2 separate regions of the Homo sapiens genome follow, and region 2 is linked to region 1. Evidence: promoter capture Hi-C in human tissues and cell types (Jung and others, 2019). All regions are on one chromosome and are shown on one strand. Each heading gives the region's core, a stretch centred on a gene start or on the middle of the fragment in contact. The rest is flanking DNA. Distances are from core to core; before and after follow the strand shown. Region 1 holds the start of ZNF607 (zinc finger protein 607). Region 2 holds the start of ZNF260 (zinc finger protein 260).

The links. The method cuts DNA at HindIII sites, captures the fragments that hold promoters and counts their contacts. A contact is called where the count stands out against the background at its distance.
Region 2: the fragment with the promoter of ZNF260 here is called in contact with the fragment with the promoter of ZNF607 in region 1 in 1 of the 25 tissues and cell types used here (dorsolateral prefrontal cortex).

Annotation. Positions count from the first base shown.
Region 1 is chr19:37,717,771-37,721,907 of GRCh38, forward strand. ZNF607 (zinc finger protein 607) reads right to left here and starts at 1,991. Exons shown (of 5, transcript NM_032689.5): 1 at 1,499-1,991. RefSeq lists silencers at 1,493-1,582, 1,643-1,752. The HindIII fragment of the contact is 7,560 bases long and covers 1-4,137 here.
Region 2 is chr19:36,525,816-36,529,952 of GRCh38, forward strand. ZNF260 (zinc finger protein 260) reads right to left here and starts at 2,456. Exons shown (of 3, transcript NM_001166037.2): 1 at 2,404-2,456. RefSeq lists enhancers at 1,753-2,463, 2,204-2,833, 2,464-3,172, 2,984-3,183. The HindIII fragment of the contact is 10,038 bases long and covers 1-4,137 here.

The DNA of each region.
Region 1 (4,137 bases), core at 741-3,240:
ACTCCAGCCTGGGCAACAAGAGCGGAACTCAGTCTCAAAAAAAAAAAAAAAAAAAAAAAAGAAAGAAAAAGAGTTGCATATATAGTTTGAGAACTGTGATCCACCACTGTAACTCTAAATAGTGTTAAACATTAGATCACAGCTATTTATCCTGTGACAGATTCTTTACAAACATAAATCTTATTATTTGTATAATATCCAATCCCTTGGACGCTGTATAATTTTCTTAACCATTCCCATAATCTCGTTCATTAGTTTTCTGCAAAACCATTCAAAGGTATAAAACTCTTTGATTCCAGATCTAAAACCTGAGTCTAAATAATTTGGATTATGGACATCCTAGAAAAATGCAAATTAACAAACATGTACAGGAATTCTTTATAGAATTTCAGGGGGTTTGTGATGTCCCTTATGCCCATAAGGGCATTGGTCTACAGACAGTACACCAATGACCGAGAATTCCTATTTTGGAAAACTTAAATTCTGGCTCACTTCCTTCACATCACGGCTAAGTTCATATTCTTGTTGCTTTTGATCTACAGAAATCCAAAACGGAATATCCAAAATTGCCTCATAATACTTAGCGCTTATGTTTCCCCCCTCCAAGGCTGCAGGCGCGTAATTTCATACACACGACCAGAAGGAAGTATGTTGGATGGAACCTGCAATCATCCTTCACTGCAGGTTCTTGGGGTCAGAATTCAAGGCCGTGTTTGTTAAACATGTAAATGAAACTCCAAGAACCGGGAGGTGGGGGCGGAGTAACAACCCTTTTCAGGAGGGAATCCTACACTCGAAACTGACAAACCCTGCCAGACCAAATTTTAGTCAGGCTACTACACCTTCAGCTAGGCCCATCTGTACACTTCACTGTAAAATCTGGCTATAGCAAAGAACTATTCTAAGTCAGTTTAGCAAGACCCTTTCGCCTCCGTATCTTCATCCTCCACCGTCCCCCAGGTCTCTCTCTCCAGAAATAATCCTGTTAGGTGCGTTTAGTCAGAATCTTCCTTAACCCAGACATTTCCTCTTAGTAATTTCTCATCCAGTGATCCCTAACCTTCTTGGCTATAAATTCCCACTTGTTCATGCTGAATTCGGAGTTGAGCCCAATGTCTGTTACCCACTGCAAAATCTCACAGCCGGGATCCCAATACCTACCACCATGGTCCTGAATAAAGGGTTCTTTGCATGCTTTAACAAGTGTCACTGAATACTTTTTTATTTAACAGAATCTATCATACCTTTCTTAAGGGCAATTACTCTTCTAAGCTTCTCATCCTATCTGTTTCTTCTCACTGGAAATCTTCATCTAAGACTCAGTATCTGATTTCCCATTGGGACCATTTCTCTGTTGTAGTCGTACTAGGCTGAGGAAGGCACAGGAAGCAGCAGGGAACCTGGAGCCAAGGGTCAATAGACCCCACAGAGCCCAGCGAAGCACGCTTTACAAAGGACACACACGGCATGTACAGGTCACACAAGGTCGACTACGCACCCCTCACAGTCCCGCAACTGCACCCACGTCACACAGGCAAGCCGGTCCTGTCGCCGCTGCGCGGTCTCTCACGCTCCCCGCCTGTCTCCTAGAGACGGGCCCCTCCTCCGCAGCTCCAGCACCCTAGGGCCTGAGGAGGCGGGAGACTCGCCCGGCCCGCCTGGGGGCCTCCGCGCTCTGAGCGCCTCCTGCAGCCCCACTCTCACCGCCACGCAGGGTACCACGCGGGCGGCGGGCTGGGGCTGCAGAGGCTCCCGCAGTGACCTGCGCCGCCTTCTTCAGGTGGAACCAAAAGGTCCCGGAACCGGAGCCAGGGGTCCAAGTTTTCTCCGTTGCCTTTGTAATATGTAGTCCAAGCCAGAACAGTCAGGACCGCAGGTACCGGTGAGAAATGGAGTCCAGAATCCTAAAAACCTACGAGAAATACGGCAGCGACCACTTGGACCGCGCCTCCCACCCACCGCTCGAGCCCCGGAGACTTCTGGGAGTGGCCGCCTTGCCTCGAGTGCGCATGCGCAGATCGGCCACTACTGGGCCCCTGGCCTGAGGCTTAGGGTGGAGTTAGTGCGTTCTTAGGGCCAGTAGGAGGCGAGTCTGAGTAGAAACTGATCCAGGTAGCCTCGGAAGGGATCACCTGCTGGATGGGTGTGAGCTCCTCAGGGTGGGGCGCCGAAACCCTCATGGCTCCTGAGGTAGAGCCGGCCTCCTTGGTAACACATGGGACTGGGACTTTTAATACCACCCGACAGGCCCAGCTTGTCTCGTCAAGCGCTAAGTAAATGGACTCACGTCCTATATGAGGGTTTGAAGTTCCATCACATTCTTCAATACATGACATTATGTTCTTCATCTTTGGACACGAATATATTTGACTAAAAATTTGACTAAAAAATCATCTGAAGAAATAACTGCTAAATAGTTTTATTATTTTTGTTCTGGAATAGGCTTCTTGAAGATAAAATAAGAAATTTAAAAAATTTTTTTGATCCTTCATGTAATACTTTGTAAATCTTCATAGTTATTTAGAAGCATCCAAAATTTCCAAATGGTAAAAAACGAATAAGAAAAATTTTTAGGTAAGTAAATTTGGGGGAAATATTTACAACAGCTAAAACGGACAAATATTTAATAGTCCGAATTTCCTGTTTCTTTGGCTTAATAAAATATTGATGAATACAGGCTGGGCACGGTGGCTCACGCCTTTAATCCCAGCATTTTCGGAGGCCAAGGCAGGAGGATCAGTTGAGGCCAGAAGTTCAAAACCAGCCTAAGAAACATAGTGAGACACCCCTCTCCTCCTCCCAAACTCTACCAAAAATGAAAGTTAGCCTGGTGTGGTGGCACACGCCTGTGGGCCCAGCTATTCCAAAGACAAAGGTAGGAGGATCAGTTGAGCCCGGAAGTTCAGGCTTCAGTGAGGTATGATGGTGTCACCGCACTCTGGCCTGAGCAACAGAGCAAGACCTTGTCTCAAAAAATAAATAAGTAAAATTAATTTAAAAATAAAAAATATTTGTCTATACCCTAAGAGGAAAAGGAACAAAACTAAAAAATCACCATTCAAAAATACAAATAGTCAAGGAAAAAAAACTATTAAAGTTACAATTTAAGAACTTATTGATCACTTTTTCTTCTCTTAATTAGTTCTTGGATTTGTTGCTCCTGAATCTCCTGAATAATCTCTCAGAAATACCACACATAGATCAATGGATTAAATTGACTCCACATATTATTTTCTTTTTCTTTTTTCTCTTTTTGAGACGGAGTTTTGCTCTAGTTGCCCAGGCTGGAGTGCAATGGCACGATCTTGGCTCACTGCAACCTCCACCTCCCAGGTTCAAGCGATTTTCCTGCCTCAGCCTCCTGAGTAGCTGGAATTACAGGCATGCATCACCATGCCCAGCTAATTTTGTATTTTTAGTAGAGACAGGGTTTTACCATGTTGGTCAGGCTGGTCTCGAACTCCCAACCTCAGATGATCTGCCCGCCTTGGCCTCCCAAAGTGCTGGGATTATAGGCATGAGCTACTGCGCCCGGCTCCACATACTATTTTCAACAAGGATACCAAGGCATTTTAAGGAAGGGAAGAGTAGTCTTTGTTGAAAAGACTGGAATTAGAGATGCACATAGAAAGGAATGAATTGAGTTCCCTGCCTCTCACCATATACAAAATCAACTCAAAATGGATCAAACACCTAGGTGTAAGACTTAAAACAGTAGAACATTTAGAAGGAAATGTAGGCATAAATCTTCTGGACTTTATAGTCAGCAATTGTTTCTTAACCGTGACATCAGAATCACAAGCAACAACATCAAAAAAGGAAATTGGACATAAATTGTAAAACATTGTGCTTCAAAACCCACCAAGAATGTGAGAAGCTACCCAAAGAGTGAGAAAAATTGTTTGTAAATTATGTATCCAATAAGGGATTTGTATCTAGAATATATAAAGAAGTCTTGCAACTCAATAATAAAAAGCCCAACAAAAATGGGCAAAGTAACTGAATAAGCATTTCTCAAAAAAAAAAAAAAAGTATACACATGGCTACTAAATACTTGAAAACATGTTCTATATTAATCATTAAGAATATGCAAATCAGCCAGGAGCAGTGGCTCATGCCTGTAATCTCAGCACTTTG
Region 2 (4,137 bases), core at 1,206-3,705, 1.2 Mb before region 1:
CATTTCAAAAATGAGAAACAGAAGGGACCTTATTTTCAGAATTTAGGTTACACAGAGAAACTATGAGAGACTAAGATGCCAGAGTTATCCACAATCACAACCTGTATAGGTTCCTTCGAGCAGGTGTCACTTGTGACCTTGCTCCTGAGTGAAGTCACATCTTTGCATATAATTTTTCCCCATAACACTTTTCTCATAAGTCTGAAGTAACCAACCTTGAGTGATATGGAAAAAAATACAGGAAATTATTCTGATGGTATTTATAGGTCAGAGCTCTAAAAAATTTAGAGGACTAATATTTTACTTAGATTAACTAGGAGAAGTTAAATATAGTAAGTGTCCTATAATAATAATCTTCCCTTGATATCACAGGAGATTGGTTCCAGGATCACTGTGGATACCAAAATCTGCAGATGCTCAAGTCCCTTATACTTCAAATATAAAGCCAGGCATGGTGGCTCACGCCTGTAATCCCAGCACTTTGGGAGGCTGAGGCAGGCTGACCACCTGAGGTCAGGAGTTCGAGACCAGGCTGGCCAAGATGGTGAAACCCTGTCTCTACTAAAAATAAAAAAATTAGCTGGGCATGGTGGCACACACCTGTACCTCAGCTACTTGGGAGGCTGAGGCAGGAGAATCGCTTGAACCCAGGAGGCAGAGGTGGCAGTGAGCCGAGATTGCACCACTGCACTCCAGTCTGGGTGACAGAGTGAGACTCCATCTCAAAAAAATAAAAATAAAGTGAATGGAAGTATATTTACATATAACCTATGCACATCCTCCCATATACTTTAAAATTATCTCCAGATTACTTATCATACGTAATACAACGTAAATGTCTGGTAAATAGTTGTTATACTGTATTGTTTAGGGAATCATGACAAGAAAAAAAAATCTGTACACGTACAGATACAACCATCGCAAGCTTAACAACAGTTATGATTCATGTTTGTTGAATCCGTGGAAGCAGAGCCTACAGACACAGAGGGCTGACTGTTCATTCACTGATTCAGCAAACATATACATTTATGATTATGTGTGCTGAGAAACCTTGGTTTACAATTTGTAATGGGATATAACAAATCAAAGGATCAAACTTACTTAGAAGCCTTCTCTAAGATGTAAGTGCCTTAGAACCTGGCTAGACAGTGCTATAAATTGCTGAAACAGGTACAGAGGGGAAATAGATGGAGGCAGACTGCAGGAAGAAGGAGCCCTTTAGACATAAAGAGCTTGAAGTTCCCTGTAACTTCCAGGTGGACTGCACATTGGGCAATTAGATAATATGGATTAGGAGCTCAGGACAAGCCTCCAGCAGAAACAGACATTTATTAGTCATCTGTATTAGATGAAGCCATGGATGGCAGTGTAATGTTGTTGCTGATAGGAGTACTTAGATGATCAAGGCCAGAAACTTAGAAACACCAATAGTTAGGGGAAAAGCAGAAACTAAGTCCTGTCTTCTTTGTATCTTTTACTTTTTCTGTATATTTCAAAACTATTAACCCTGTTACTTTTTTATTTTATTGAAAAATATGTTAAGAATAAGTGTGACAAGATACTTGAATATGTTGATATGTTAAGAATAAGTGTGACAAGATACTTGAAGATAGGATACTTCTATCTTTGTATACACAAGAAAAGAATTTCCCCTATATTTACAAAAGGCTGGGGAAACCCTGATTAAATTAGGAGTGAGATTGCTGCCCTCACTGACGAACTAGGGAGTTTCTTGACCTCTGCGCTAAAGGCAGGACAAGTAGCTTCCAAATTCTGTGCCGTCTGCGCTATTGGAAACTACCTCTTAAAGATATTCCTTAGTTCAGGGTTTCTCCAAGCAACTGCACCAAAGTTTCTCCAAAGTATTAAGAAAAGTCAATGCCTACTGGGTGTACAGGCACCCAGTAACAAGTTTTTCCGAAATCTTGCCTCTTTAAAAAAATAATGGAAAGGTAATGCTGATTTTGTTTTCTACTCCACAATAGGTCTGCTTTTATATAAAAAATCACCTTTAAAATTACTTATCCGCTCAATTCCTTAGCCTTTTCCGTTTCCTATTTTCCAGAAAACGCATCTTTATTATTTTAGAAATGAGAAAAGTGAGGCTTAGAGGTTACTACCTCACAAAGCCATCCGTCCATCCTCACAAACTTGGAACCAGTTTCTCACTAACTCTGCACCCTCAACACCCCCTCACACTCTCGGTCACCCACCCGCGAACCCACCCGAACTGTACCCCTGCCCCCAGCCACACAAGCTCGGATCACCGCACATCATAGAAGGCGATTCCTCCCCTCCATACTCCCAGCCCCGTCGCAGGCACTGCAAATCCTCCCCTCCAGCGTCCCTGGCCCGTTTCAGTGTCCAGAAACCCAAGTCCCACAGGGCCGAAACCCAACTCACCGGCAGACAAAGACGACCATGGCAAGTCGGAGATTCCGCGCCTGCGCACTCCTTCCGCGGGCAGCGCTCCCAGAGGTCTCCTGGGCTGGGCCAGGCCCCGACTCAGAACCGGACGGAATCGAGAGATCTTGGCCCGTCCTCCGTGCCACTCTTTTGAGGGTAGACTACATTTCCCAGAAGGTTCAGCGGTTTGAGTCAGCTTTTCGCGCGAACTTTTCCTCCGCCAGAGCTTGTGGGACTGTCTCCCTGGCCGGGGCAGGGGTGTAAGGCCTTAGTCTTAGTTTACTCTATCCCTGGGATTGGGTAGTGGTGTAACATCAGCTTAAACACGCTGTGCTGACTTTATGTAACAGCCACGGTGCGATACTAAGCCAGGAACCCCAGGAGACTCTCAGACACGGTTCGGGAATGAGGGTAATCCCTTTGGCTGGGCTCAAGCCGGGCGCCATCTTGCTCATCGCGGGCGTGGCGCTGAACTACATTTCCCAGAAGGCGCCGCGCCCTCGGCCCCTCCCCTCGCGACTCCCGCGGCTCGGGGGAGAGCTGCACGCGACCCAGGTGCTGGCCTCTGAGCGGGTCGGCTCGGAGACTACAGGATCAGGAGGAGGTTGGAGGTGAAGCGTCTGGAATCCGGTGCGGAGGTTGAGACTGAGTATTAAGTCTGTTCAGGCGGAACGCGCCGAGAAGGGCGGTTGTGAAATTGTGTTTTTGTGAATGTATGTCCTAGCACAGTGTGTGTGTGATTGTGATTGTGTGTGACACCTTGTGTACGGATGTGGGGAGGACTCTGCGGGTGTCCCGTGAGTCCCTGTGTTAGGACTGTTATTGTGTGACTGTGTAACGCTGTGTGAGGGTGTGGGTTAGCTGTGACTGTGTGCCCGCGGTGGGTGTGTGATTGTAACTCTGTGACCATATGTTCGTTTGTGTGCAGATATAGGGAGCTTTGTACTTATGTAGTTGTGACTCTGTGTCCTTGTGTGGGAGTATGGAGGGTGGGTGCTTGTGACTTTGTGTACAGTGGTGGGTGTGTGACTGTGAAGCATTGGGTGTGCGTGGAGTTGAGACTGTGTTTGTGTGTCTTTGACCAAATGTCACACATAGTCATATGTGAGAGCAGAAGACAGCTCGGCCCCGTGATAGTAAAGGGGATTTTTCTATGACACTGAGTTTTGAGTTGGAAGCCCCAGTTTCCTCTGATAGCCCTCCCATGGCGGGGGAGGGGAACGCAGAGTAAGCTCTGGCCTTGTCATTTGGGCCCTAGGGGAGGTGTATTGTCTCCCTTCTCATTTCTGTCCTCCAAGAGAGGTTCCCCAGAGGAGAGGAAATAACGGTTGTGATATCTAAAAGCCATGTTTAAGGTGCCTTGAAGTTTTCTCTTTGTTCCTGAAATGCTTTATTTTTCCAGGACCTGATTTTTTTTTTTTTTGAGATGGAGTCTCGCACTGTCGCCCGGGCTGGTGTGCAGTGGCGCGATCTCGGCTCACTGCAACCTCCGCCTCCCAGGTTCAAGCGATTCTCCTTCCTCAGCCTACCGAGTAGCTAGGATTACAGGTGCCGGCCACCACGCCCGGGTAATTTTTTTGTTGTTGTATTTTTAGTAGAGACGGGGCTTCACTATGTTGGCCTGGCTTGTCTTGAACTCCTAACCTTGTGAACCGTCCACCTCGGCCTCCCAAAGTGCTGGGATTACAGGCATGAGCCACTGCGCCCGGCTGATTTTTTTTTTCTTAGCAA